Regions from separate parts of the Homo sapiens genome. Here region 1 is linked to region 2. Evidence: promoter capture Hi-C in human tissues and cell types (Jung and others, 2019). All regions are on one chromosome and are shown on one strand. The core of a region is centred on a gene start or on the middle of the fragment in contact, and the rest is flanking DNA. Distances in the headings are between cores, read along the strand shown. Region 1 overlaps RNF4 (ring finger protein 4). Region 2 holds the start of MXD4 (MAX dimerization protein 4).

The links. The method cuts DNA at HindIII sites, captures the fragments that hold promoters and counts their contacts. A contact is called where the count stands out against the background at its distance.
Region 1: a fragment that was not itself captured here is called in contact with the fragment with the promoter of MXD4 in region 2 in 3 of the 25 tissues and cell types used here (dorsolateral prefrontal cortex, lymphoblastoid cells and spleen).

What each region holds. Positions count from the first base shown.
Region 1 is chr4:2,483,843-2,488,782 of GRCh38, reverse strand. All of the region lies in intron 1 of RNF4 (ring finger protein 4), which reads right to left. Among named protein-coding and RNA genes, the nearest start is that of RNF4, 17 kb to the right of the region's middle. RefSeq lists enhancers at 601-710, 2,214-2,715, 3,219-3,498. The HindIII fragment of the contact is 4,796 bases long and covers 582-4,940 here.
Region 2 is chr4:2,259,880-2,264,659 of GRCh38, reverse strand. It overlaps MXD4 (MAX dimerization protein 4), which reads left to right and starts at 2,551. Exons shown (of 6, transcript NM_006454.3): 1 at 2,551-2,743; 2 at 2,836-2,935. The coding sequence starts at 2,680. RefSeq lists enhancers at 879-1,538, 1,539-2,200, 3,432-4,024 and silencers at 1,832-2,671, 2,722-2,781, 2,872-3,261, 3,272-3,331. The HindIII fragment of the contact is 28,165 bases long and covers 1-4,780 here.

The DNA of each region.
Region 1 (4,940 bases), core at 1,730-4,229, 220 kb before region 2:
CCCCAACCTGTGACCTTGGGGCATGGCATTGAACTTCTCTGTGCCCCATTTCCTTATCTATAGAACAGAACTGCACCTACCTTAATGGTGTGTGAGGATTCCAGAAGTTATTACAAGAGAGTGTTTGGAACAGTGCAGGCACACTGGAAAGGCTCAGTGTCTGTGGGCTGACACATACCCATCACCACACTCAGCCCCACAGCACCAGGTTGGCAGTCTCTCCAAATAAACCTTCCCAGTGACCAGCTCCAACCTTCTGCTCAAGCCCTAAAATGCTGTGTGATATCACATCCCACTCAGTTTTTTTTTGTTGTTGTTGTTGTTGTTTTTGAGACGGAGTCTCACTCTGTTGCCCAGACTGGAGTGCAGTGGGCTCACTGCAACCTCCACCTCCCAGGTTCAAGTGATTCTCCTGCCTCAGCCTCCCAGTAGCTGGGACTACAGGCATGTGCCACCACACCAGGCTAATTTTTCTACTTTTAGTAGAGATGGGGTTTCCACCAGGTTGGCCAGGCTGGTCTCGAACTTCTGACCTCAGGTGATCCACTTGCCTCGGCTTCCCAAAGTGCTGGGATTACAGGCATGAGCCACCACGTCTGTCCTCCCACCCAGCTTTAAGAAAGGATGCATACCTCCCCGCCTCATTCACAGTACAGCCCCTGCCCTGGGAATACAGCAATGAGCAAACACAGCCTCTGTGCAGAATCTAGGGCGGGGAGAAGGGTGAGGAGGGTGCTGGCAGGCAGCTATAACGAAGTTAGGAACTAAGTGTGCAAGAAGTACAGGAGGAGAAAGGGAGGCCAGAGTAGGTTTTTCAGGAGATGCCCAAAGGGACCGCCGTCCCAGCTGAGCTGAGCATTTTCTTCAGCACTTGGTCGTCTGGTTCTGAGAAAATGGCATACTGTATCTCACTCCCTGAGCGCCTCATTCTCTAGCTTGACCTCAATGGTTTAGAGGGGAAATCCCCTTCACTGTTTCACTCTAATAAAGGGTGACTTGCATCTCCTTAGGCTGGCCCATACTATGGGACTACGGGTGCTCTCAACAGAATGCACAAATGGGGCAGGCACAGTGGCTCATGCCCTATAACCCCAGCACTTTGGGAAGTTGAAGAGGGAGGATCTCTTGAGCCCAGGAATTGGAAACTAGCTTGGTTAACATGGTGAGATCCTGTCTCTATAAAAAAATTAAAATAATGAGGCTGGGCAGTGGCTCATGCCTGTAATCCCAGCACTCTGGGAGGCTGAGGCAGGCAGATCACTTGAGATCAGGAGTTCAAGACCAGCTTGGCCAACATGGCGAAACCCCGTCTCTACTAAAAATATAAAAATTAGCCGGGTGTGGTGGTGTGCGCCTATAATCCCAGCTACGTAGGAGGCTAAGGCACAAGAATCACTTGAACCCGGGAGGCGGAGGTTGCAATGAGCCAAGATGGCACCACTGCACTCCAGCCTGGCCAACAGAGAGAGACTCTGTCTCAAAAAATAAAAATAAAAACACATTAAAAAAATAGCCAGATGTGACGGTGCACACTTGTAGTCCCAGCTACTCCAGGGGCTGAGACAGGAGGATCACCTGAGCCCAGGAGGTCAAGACTGCAGTGAGCCATGACTGCACCATTGCACTCCAGCCCGGAGCACAAATGCTTCTCAAAGCAACACCTCACCTGGTAAGTGTTCAACTTTAAACAGACATTCAGGGAAGAGGCTCTGGCTAGGAAAAGACTTGTCTAGTTGGTTTCAACAGAGGTGGGAGGTGCCTCGACATCACCTTAGGACTCACAAGATCATTCAGACCACACGACAGTCCCAGATCCACCACATGTCCTGGGTTCTCATATCCACGAATGTTTCTGATCTCAAGAAATATCTTACATTTGGGTGCACATCTATCATATAGGGGCTTGTTCTCCCCGCCACATCAATAGCGTGTCTTAGAATTTAGAAAAGAGAAGCTACTGACAAAGGAAGACAGAGAAATCAGCCTGCAGAGCAAAGGGAAACACCTGATGTCCACACCCAGGCTGTTCCTAAGCCTCTCTCCTCCCACTTCACTGATATTGAGGCTTCCAAATACGGCTGCTGAAGATGTGCCTTGTGGCTGTCCTGGCCTGCACACCCCTCACCACTCTGAAACCAGCCTCCTGCATCCCTGCAGGCCCAGCTAGACCATTACTACTTCCCTGGGAAGCTTTCTGGAGCCCCCTCATTCTCCATGCCCTGGCCCATACAGCAATTCACCCCAAATCTGGTTTTTCTCTCTCTTTTGGGTTTAGTAAGGGTCAGGAGTCAGAGTTCAAAGGAATTTGGAAGGCTGGTCTTGGGGATAAGCCACCAAGAGGCTGGATTTCACCAGGGCACTGAGGTGAGACAGGAGCATTTCCAGCAGAGCATCCCAGCGTGGTGGGGACGTAGAAATGCAGAGTGAATGGAGACCTTAGCGGTCATGGGAAAGTAGCCCTCACCAACTACAAAGGGTTCTGGATCATGCAGGTGAGAGTCCAATGGAATAAGAAAACTAACAACAGCTGAGAGGTGCCTTCTCTGCATCTGCACAAGGCACTGCGCTTCCTAAATATTAATATCACCACATGTGCTCCTCACATCACCCAGTAAGGAAATAAGCACTGTTATGTTCCCCATTTTACCCATGAAGCAGCTAAGGATTAAAGTTAAGGAACTTCCCCAAAGTCATCCACACCTAGTAAACAGAGCCTAGACTTAAACCAGGGCAGTCTGATACCAAGACCCACACCCTCAAATAGGTATGTTAGTGCCAGAATCAAATACATCAATTCCAGAAACTAGCGGGAACACTGACGGTGATTTTTCAGATTTCTCAAATTTAGTGTGTTCCAAAAGGAACCCTTGCCTCCTCCTTCCGCCAACATATACTCCATTTCAAGAAAGGGCCCCACCATCCTCCAGTCTCTCGTCCAGTATGCTCTCACTTAGGTAAGCGCTACGAGGACAAGGCTCTATTTACTTTCTACCTAGCTAAGACCTTACACAAAGCAGATGCTCATATTTATTGAAGGAATAAATGAGGGTAAGAGTGGGGTGTTGATGGCGCCCCTGCCACTGAGAAAAGAGGAGCTGGGGTAGAGAAGTGGTCATTCCTAACTGGGGATGGTCAGGAGAGCCGGATGCTAGGTATTCCTAAAGCTTCCAAGGTGAAAGGAGAAACAACTCACGCCAAGGTATCTAGCTTCTTACTCTGCAAGAATGAGGCCATAAAACCCAATGAGGGAAGGGAGAACAGAAACAGGTGCTGAGTGTAGTTTTAGAAAAGCAGGGTGTGAGACACCCAGGGAGAAAGGGCCCAAGGTAGCTGGAAACTCAAGAGTGAGAACTCGGATGGACGTAGAGATTTCAGAATGTGTGAAAACTTGGGGAGGCAGGTAGATAGAATCTGTAAAAGAGAATTTAAAAGAAACAAAGCTAGGAGAACCTGGAGCCGTCACTCAGACAAAACCTCCTTCTTCAAGGAGGAGGAAGCAGTGAACAGCTGCAATGCACAGGCTGGGGAACTGAAAGGCGGCCAGTGAGCTCAAACACGGAAGTGGGACGCTGGTGACCTAAGCAAGTGGAAGCAGCAGCAAAGGAGTCGCAGTCCCAGCCCAAACGCGCTGAGGATCAAGCCGGGCTGTCTAGAGGAAGCAGTGCTGAATGGGGCCTCAAGTGACAGGAGGAGTTAATTAAGAAACAATGTATGTGGGTGGGGTGGGCGGAAGGGAGCAGGGATGTCCCACACGAGCACTGTGTGGAGGACAACAAAGGTGCCGAGGGTTCCTAACAAGCCTCACTGACTACACCCTCAGGACAGGGCCATCGAGGGTTTTGGGACAGAGATGACATGTTGAGATCTGCATTTAGAGACCATGTCACCTGTGTCTGGTGAGAACAGATGGGAGACTGAACAAGTCAGACTGTAGACCAAGGAGGAGACTCAGGGTAGCCCAGGTGAGAAGAAAGCCATGAGGCTCGGGGTAGTGGCAGAGTATAGGACAGAGAGGTGACTGACGGGATGGAAGCTGGAAGGGCTTTGGGGCTTTCTTCATTCTTATAGATTTATTATTTAAGGTCTAAGTAATTATTCTGTTTTTCTTAGAGGTCCCCCCCAATAAAGCTATTATAAGCACTTCAGATATTGACCCCCCCCACTCTAGCAGGAGTGTGACATATAATTATGTGTATTCATGGTATATATGTATACGATGTGCAGATGCTCCTTGACGTACAATGGGGCTAACTCCCAATAAATCATAAGTTGAAAAATTCTAAATGAAACACTGTAAGTCAGGGACTGTCCGTGTATGCATATGTGCATGTGTCTCTATCATACATAAAGGAGTCTGCTAATGGATAGAGACATACAGGCGGGCAGGAAACAGGAAGAGTGTTAGACTGGAACCAAATTCTATGACCCTATCTCATACCACTGTATTCCTATGAGCAAAGAGTCAGCTGAAAAGGGGCAGTGGGGAGCACAGCAGAACCAGAATGATATCGTAACTCTGCAGCCAGTCCACAGGGAGATGCTCTAACGAGAAGCTCTTCTGTTTAGCCTAGGCCTACACCAGGTACACAGAACCCTCAAACCCCACCTGGGAGGCAGAGTCTGATACAATTACCCACTGAAAATAAGAGACCTGGGTCAGGCATGGTGGCTCACACCTGTAATCCCAGCACTTTGGGAGGCCGAGGCGGGGGGGGATCACCTGAGGCCAGGAGTTCGAGACCAGCCTGAACAATATGGTGAAACCCACCCCCTACTAAAAATACAACAATTAGCTGGGTGTGGTGGTGGGCGCCTGTAATCCCAGCTACTCGGGAACCTGAGGCAGGAGAATCGCTCGAACCCAAGAGGTGGAGGTGAGCCGAGATCGCACCATTGCACTCCAGCCTGCGCAACAAGTGAAACTCAGTCTCAAAATAAAT
Region 2 (4,780 bases), core at 1,302-3,801:
CCACCTGCAGCCATCTGGGCCAGGCCAACATCACCTCCAGGCCTCTCCTGGCTGCTCCCTCCCCTTCCCTCTCCTCCTGCCATTGCTGGCCGATGCCTCCAGTACCTCCCTCCCTAGCTGCAGCTCAGCCCTCAGTCATCCATCGCCTCCTGCAGCTTCTCCTCCCAACCCCAACTCCTTCCTGCTCCCCCAGGCAGTGGTGCCCACACTACCAGGCAAGGTTTGAGCCCAGGGACACCAGGGAAGTGCTTGGTCCTCAGTGTGGTGGGGAGGTGAGGGTGAGTCCTTAAATGGCCTAAATTGAGGCTAAAAATCTCTTAGACTGGGGTAGCATGCAGGTGCCTCCCCATAGACACACCTGCGCACCTGTGCTGCCCACTGCCACACAGAACAAATCTCTTGGCCCATGGCAGGAAGGGGGCGTGCACTATGCCCAGCAGGTGCACTTGTACTAGGCCAGGTGTCCGCTTTAGCTGTCGGCAGCAACTCACCCAGTGGCCAAAGCAGGGATGGGGCAACTTTGCAAAATGCTCATCCCCAAGTGGAGAGCTGGGTCCCCAGAGCCCAAACACACCCTGCTCCTCCCCAGACTTGGGCACCTTTCTTTACCATGCACAGCTCTGAGCAGCCATGCAGACAAACCTGGAGGGCCTCAGTGCTGAGTTCTTGTGAGGGGCTCTGCCTTGGGCCCTGGCGTCACTGTGGGGCGGGAACAGGAAGGGCCCCTGCTAACATCAAGGGGGTTGTCTCAATGTCCATGCAGGGCTGTCTCATAGCAGTGTCCGAGTTCCCCACTGGGTCCTGCAGGGCTCTGTGGGAACACACATTATTCTGAAGCCCACACCACAGGCTTACACCCAGCAGGACCAGCCAGGCCAGGAGGCTCTGGCCTCTGCATTCCTATAGCCCTGAGCCGTGTGTGGCAGCACTAATCTCCATTCTGCTGAGATTTCTGGGAGACCCCAGCAAATCCCTGAGCGTCTAGTCCCATGTCCTGATCTGCAAGCCGGGCATGCAAAACACAGGGAGATGCACACGAAGCTTTCACAGGAGTCCTGGTGCTGAGGTTTTGCATTTTTTGTTCAGTTTCATTGCCAGCAGCAGCCCCTGTGTCCCACTGAGTACTTCTGGAGGGGTCCAGCCACCTTATGCCTCCACACTCTCCAGCCTGCGGGGCCTGGCCCTTGGCACATCCAGGCCACCAACCTCAAAAATCAAATCAGTGAGATGGGTCGGGCGAGGTGGCTCACACCTGTAATCCCAGAACTTTGGGAGGCCGAGGCGGGCGGATCACGAGGTCAGGAGATCCAGACCATCCATGGTGAAACCCCATCTCTACTAAAAATACAAAAATTAGCTGGGCGTGGTGGCACGCGCCTGTAGTCCCAGCTACTTGGGAGGCTGAGGCAGGGGAATCGCTTGAACCCGGGAGGCGGAGGTTGCAGTGAACTGACATCACGCCACTGCATTCCAGCCTGGGCAACAGAGCCGTCTCAAAAAAAAAAAAAAAAAAAATCTGCGAGAGGGTGGGGGGTGCCGAGGCCAGTCTGGGCCAGCCTTAGGGTCAGGGGTCACTAGGGAGACCCGCCAGCTGGGATTTGATGAAGGGTTCACTCCCGTCCCCACTTAGGGCGTCCTCGGCCAGAGGTGGCCAGCGCCTGCCTCTAGGAACGTCCCTGCCCCTCAGGCCAGACACAGAGCATGCAGCCCCCCACTCCGGGGAGCCTCTCGACTCTGGCCGCACGTCTGTGTCCCTTCCCCAGACCTGGGCCCTCCCTCAGCTCCGGCGTCCACTGGGCGATCTGAGGAGCCCGCCCGCTCTGGGCCTGTTTCCCCACTGACACCCTCAGAGACGCCTGGCTCTTAGGATCAGAGCGTCTGCGTCCCTCTCCGAGGTCCCGGCCCTTCCCGGGGCCACTCTGCGCCCGGCGGGGAGGGGAGTCGTTCACGGCCCCACGCAAGACCCCCGGGCAGAGCGCGAGGCCTCGTCCCCCCACGCAGCCACTGCTTTCGTCGCGCTCAGACCCGGCGGCCCGGCCCGGCCCGGCGCACGCCCCGGAGCGCCCTGCTTCGCTCTCGTAGCGGAGACGCTCCTGCGTCCTAACGGGCCCCCAGGACGGCGGGCGGTCCCCGCGCGCTGCGCTTCCTCTCGGCAACGCGTCCGGCTGCGGCGCCCTCATTGGCCGCGCGCCCCGCCACCGGCCATTGGCTCGCAGTGCCTGTTTTACATAGGCCGCTCTGGCCAATCGGCGCGCGGCGCCTACTTAACATGCACGGCGGCCGCCAGTCAGCTAGCGCGGGGGCCGGGCCACCACGTGCTGTTGCTAAGCTCGGGCTTCTAAATTGTTACTAGCGCGGCCGGCCTATCCCAGCCCAGCTCTGCATCTGTCAACATTCTCGGCCCGGCCCGAGGCGCTCGACCCGTCCCCATTGGCCCCAGCCCGGCCCGGCGCCCGCCCCCGGGGCGCGAACGCCGCCTCCCATTGGCTCTGCGGGCCGCCGCTCTCCCTTATGTGTCAATTTGAGGGCCTGAGGCGGAGGGTGGCGGCCGAGCGCCGGAGTCCGCGGAGTCTGGAAGTGCGGCGGCCGGGCGCGCGGGGTGGGCGGCGAGCGGAGCCGGCCGGAGCGGGCCGGGCAGCGGCCGCCGCCGTCCCGGGGCGGACGGGCGCGGGCGGGAGGATGGAGCTGAACTCCCTGCTGATCCTGCTGGAGGCGGCCGAGTACCTGGAGCGCAGGGATCGAGGTAGCGCTCGCACCCCATTGTGCGCCCGCGGCGGTGGGCGGGCGGCGGGGCCGTGCCGGGCGGGGGCCGCTGACCGCGCCGTGTGTCCGCAGAGGCCGAGCACGGCTACGCCTCGGTGCTGCCCTTCGACGGCGACTTCGCCAGGGAGAAAACAAAGGCGGCCGGCCTGGTGCGCAAGGCCCCGAACAACAGGTACCGCCCCCCGCTCCCGACCCCGCCCGGCCCGGTCCGAACCCCCGCCCCCGCCCGGAGCGTGCTCTCCGGGCCCCGATTCCCGGCCCGCGGCCCTCAGCGCCGCCGCCGCGCGCCCCGGCGGCCAGCCTGGAGGAGGAGGCGCGCAGGCCGCGGCCGCAGCCCCGCCCGGCCGGCCCCGCCCTCGCCGTCGCCATCTTCCCGCGGCCGCGCCTCCCGGGCCGCTCGCGTAAACAGTGCCACGCGTACAGCGCCCGCCGCCGGGGTCCGCTCCCGCGCCCGCTCCCCGCCCCCGAGTTGTTCTGGACTTTTCCAGGCGGTAGAAAAGTTGTCAGCGGGCGCTGGCCGGTGCCCCGTGGGTCTGGGGAAACAGGCTCAGCCAGGGTCTGCGGGGGCTGCCGGCCCTAACCCCTTCTCTCCGCGGGTGGGTGGGCGGCCTCCTTTCGACTGGCTCTGCCAGCCGAACTCTGCTGCTCGGCCACCTTCCCCCGCCCCCAGGAGCCTAGACAGAGAAGCGAGTGGAGGCGCTGTCCTGGGCCCTCACTCCTCCCAGGGTGCCCACCGCTTCTGCCCAGCCTCCTGACACAGCGAAACTCCAGCCACCAGTATGGGGGTCCTCTTTTTTAAGACAGAGGCCTTTTAAGGGGGCGGGAGGAGGGGGCAGGCTGCAGGGCAGGGGCCCCATGAAGTCGTTACTACGGGTGCCAGCTGCGCCCTCCATACCTTGACCTCGTGTTCAGGCAGCAGAAGCCCTGAAGCTGGGGTGCGTACAGGTCCCCCGCGTGGGGAGTGGGGACCCTGGGCCGGGGCTCCCCGGGGATTTCCACCCTCCTGGCTGCTGTGAGGACCATAGCACACCTGGTCCTGTCTGGGCCCACCTTGGCCCAGCCCTTTTGTGTGAGCAGGCTGGGAGCTGCGTTTGTAGGGGGCTTCAGAGCCCCAGGGCATGGCTCATTCCTGTGGTCCACCTGTTCTAGGGAATCCGAAAGGCTGGTGTAGGGACCCATTTCTGTGGCATCCTGAGCCAGGCGAGGAATTGGTTGAGTCTCCAGCTGCCCTGGCTGGGACCCGTCCCTGAGTCCCAGCCCCTGGTCCCCTACTGGGGACAGTTTGGGGAAGGACAGGAGTGTGACGAGGGAACCATTGCCTCAGGCCTCCTCAGTGAGCAAGCCCGGCCCCCGCTGCCGCTTCTCTCCAAACCAAGTCCCTGACCCGTGGAGAACTCTGGGGCGTGAGCTGGGGCTCCCCCAGCATGGAGAATCCAAAGCTGACAACCAGCGTCCTGGCCAAGGCTGCCCGAACACTGCCTCTATGCTGAGCGTTTCACACATGCAGCCAGTTCATCTTCACCCCAGGCTCAGAGAGGTGATGTGATTTTTATCTCTATGGCCAAGGAAACTGAGGCAAGGAGAGGTTTGGTTACTTGCCTGCCACTCACCCATCTCTGATGACGCCTGTTCCTGAGATGGGGTCCCAGCTGTCCACATTCTGCTGGGACAGAGACCATGGGGGCACTGGTGAGGGAGACAGAGGGCTCCCCAACTCTGGTGCATCTCCCCTGGCTCCTCTGGGCCGAGCCCCGCTCCCCCGGGGCCTGAGGCAGCCCAGGGCTGGCGGCTTGGCCCCTTCCTCGGGTGGGCAGCACTGCCCTGGAGGTTTCCTCAGCCAGCCCAGACAAGTAGCTGGGCGGAGCAGGGGGCCAGAGGATCTCTGAGCCCCTGACTTGTCCCCACCTGTGAGGCTTCCATGCTCTGCCAAGGTGAGGGAGGGGACATGGCACAGTGAGGCTGGGGCAAGGGTAGGGAGTGGGGCCGGAGGACAGTGTCAGGGTTGAGGGAGGCGGCA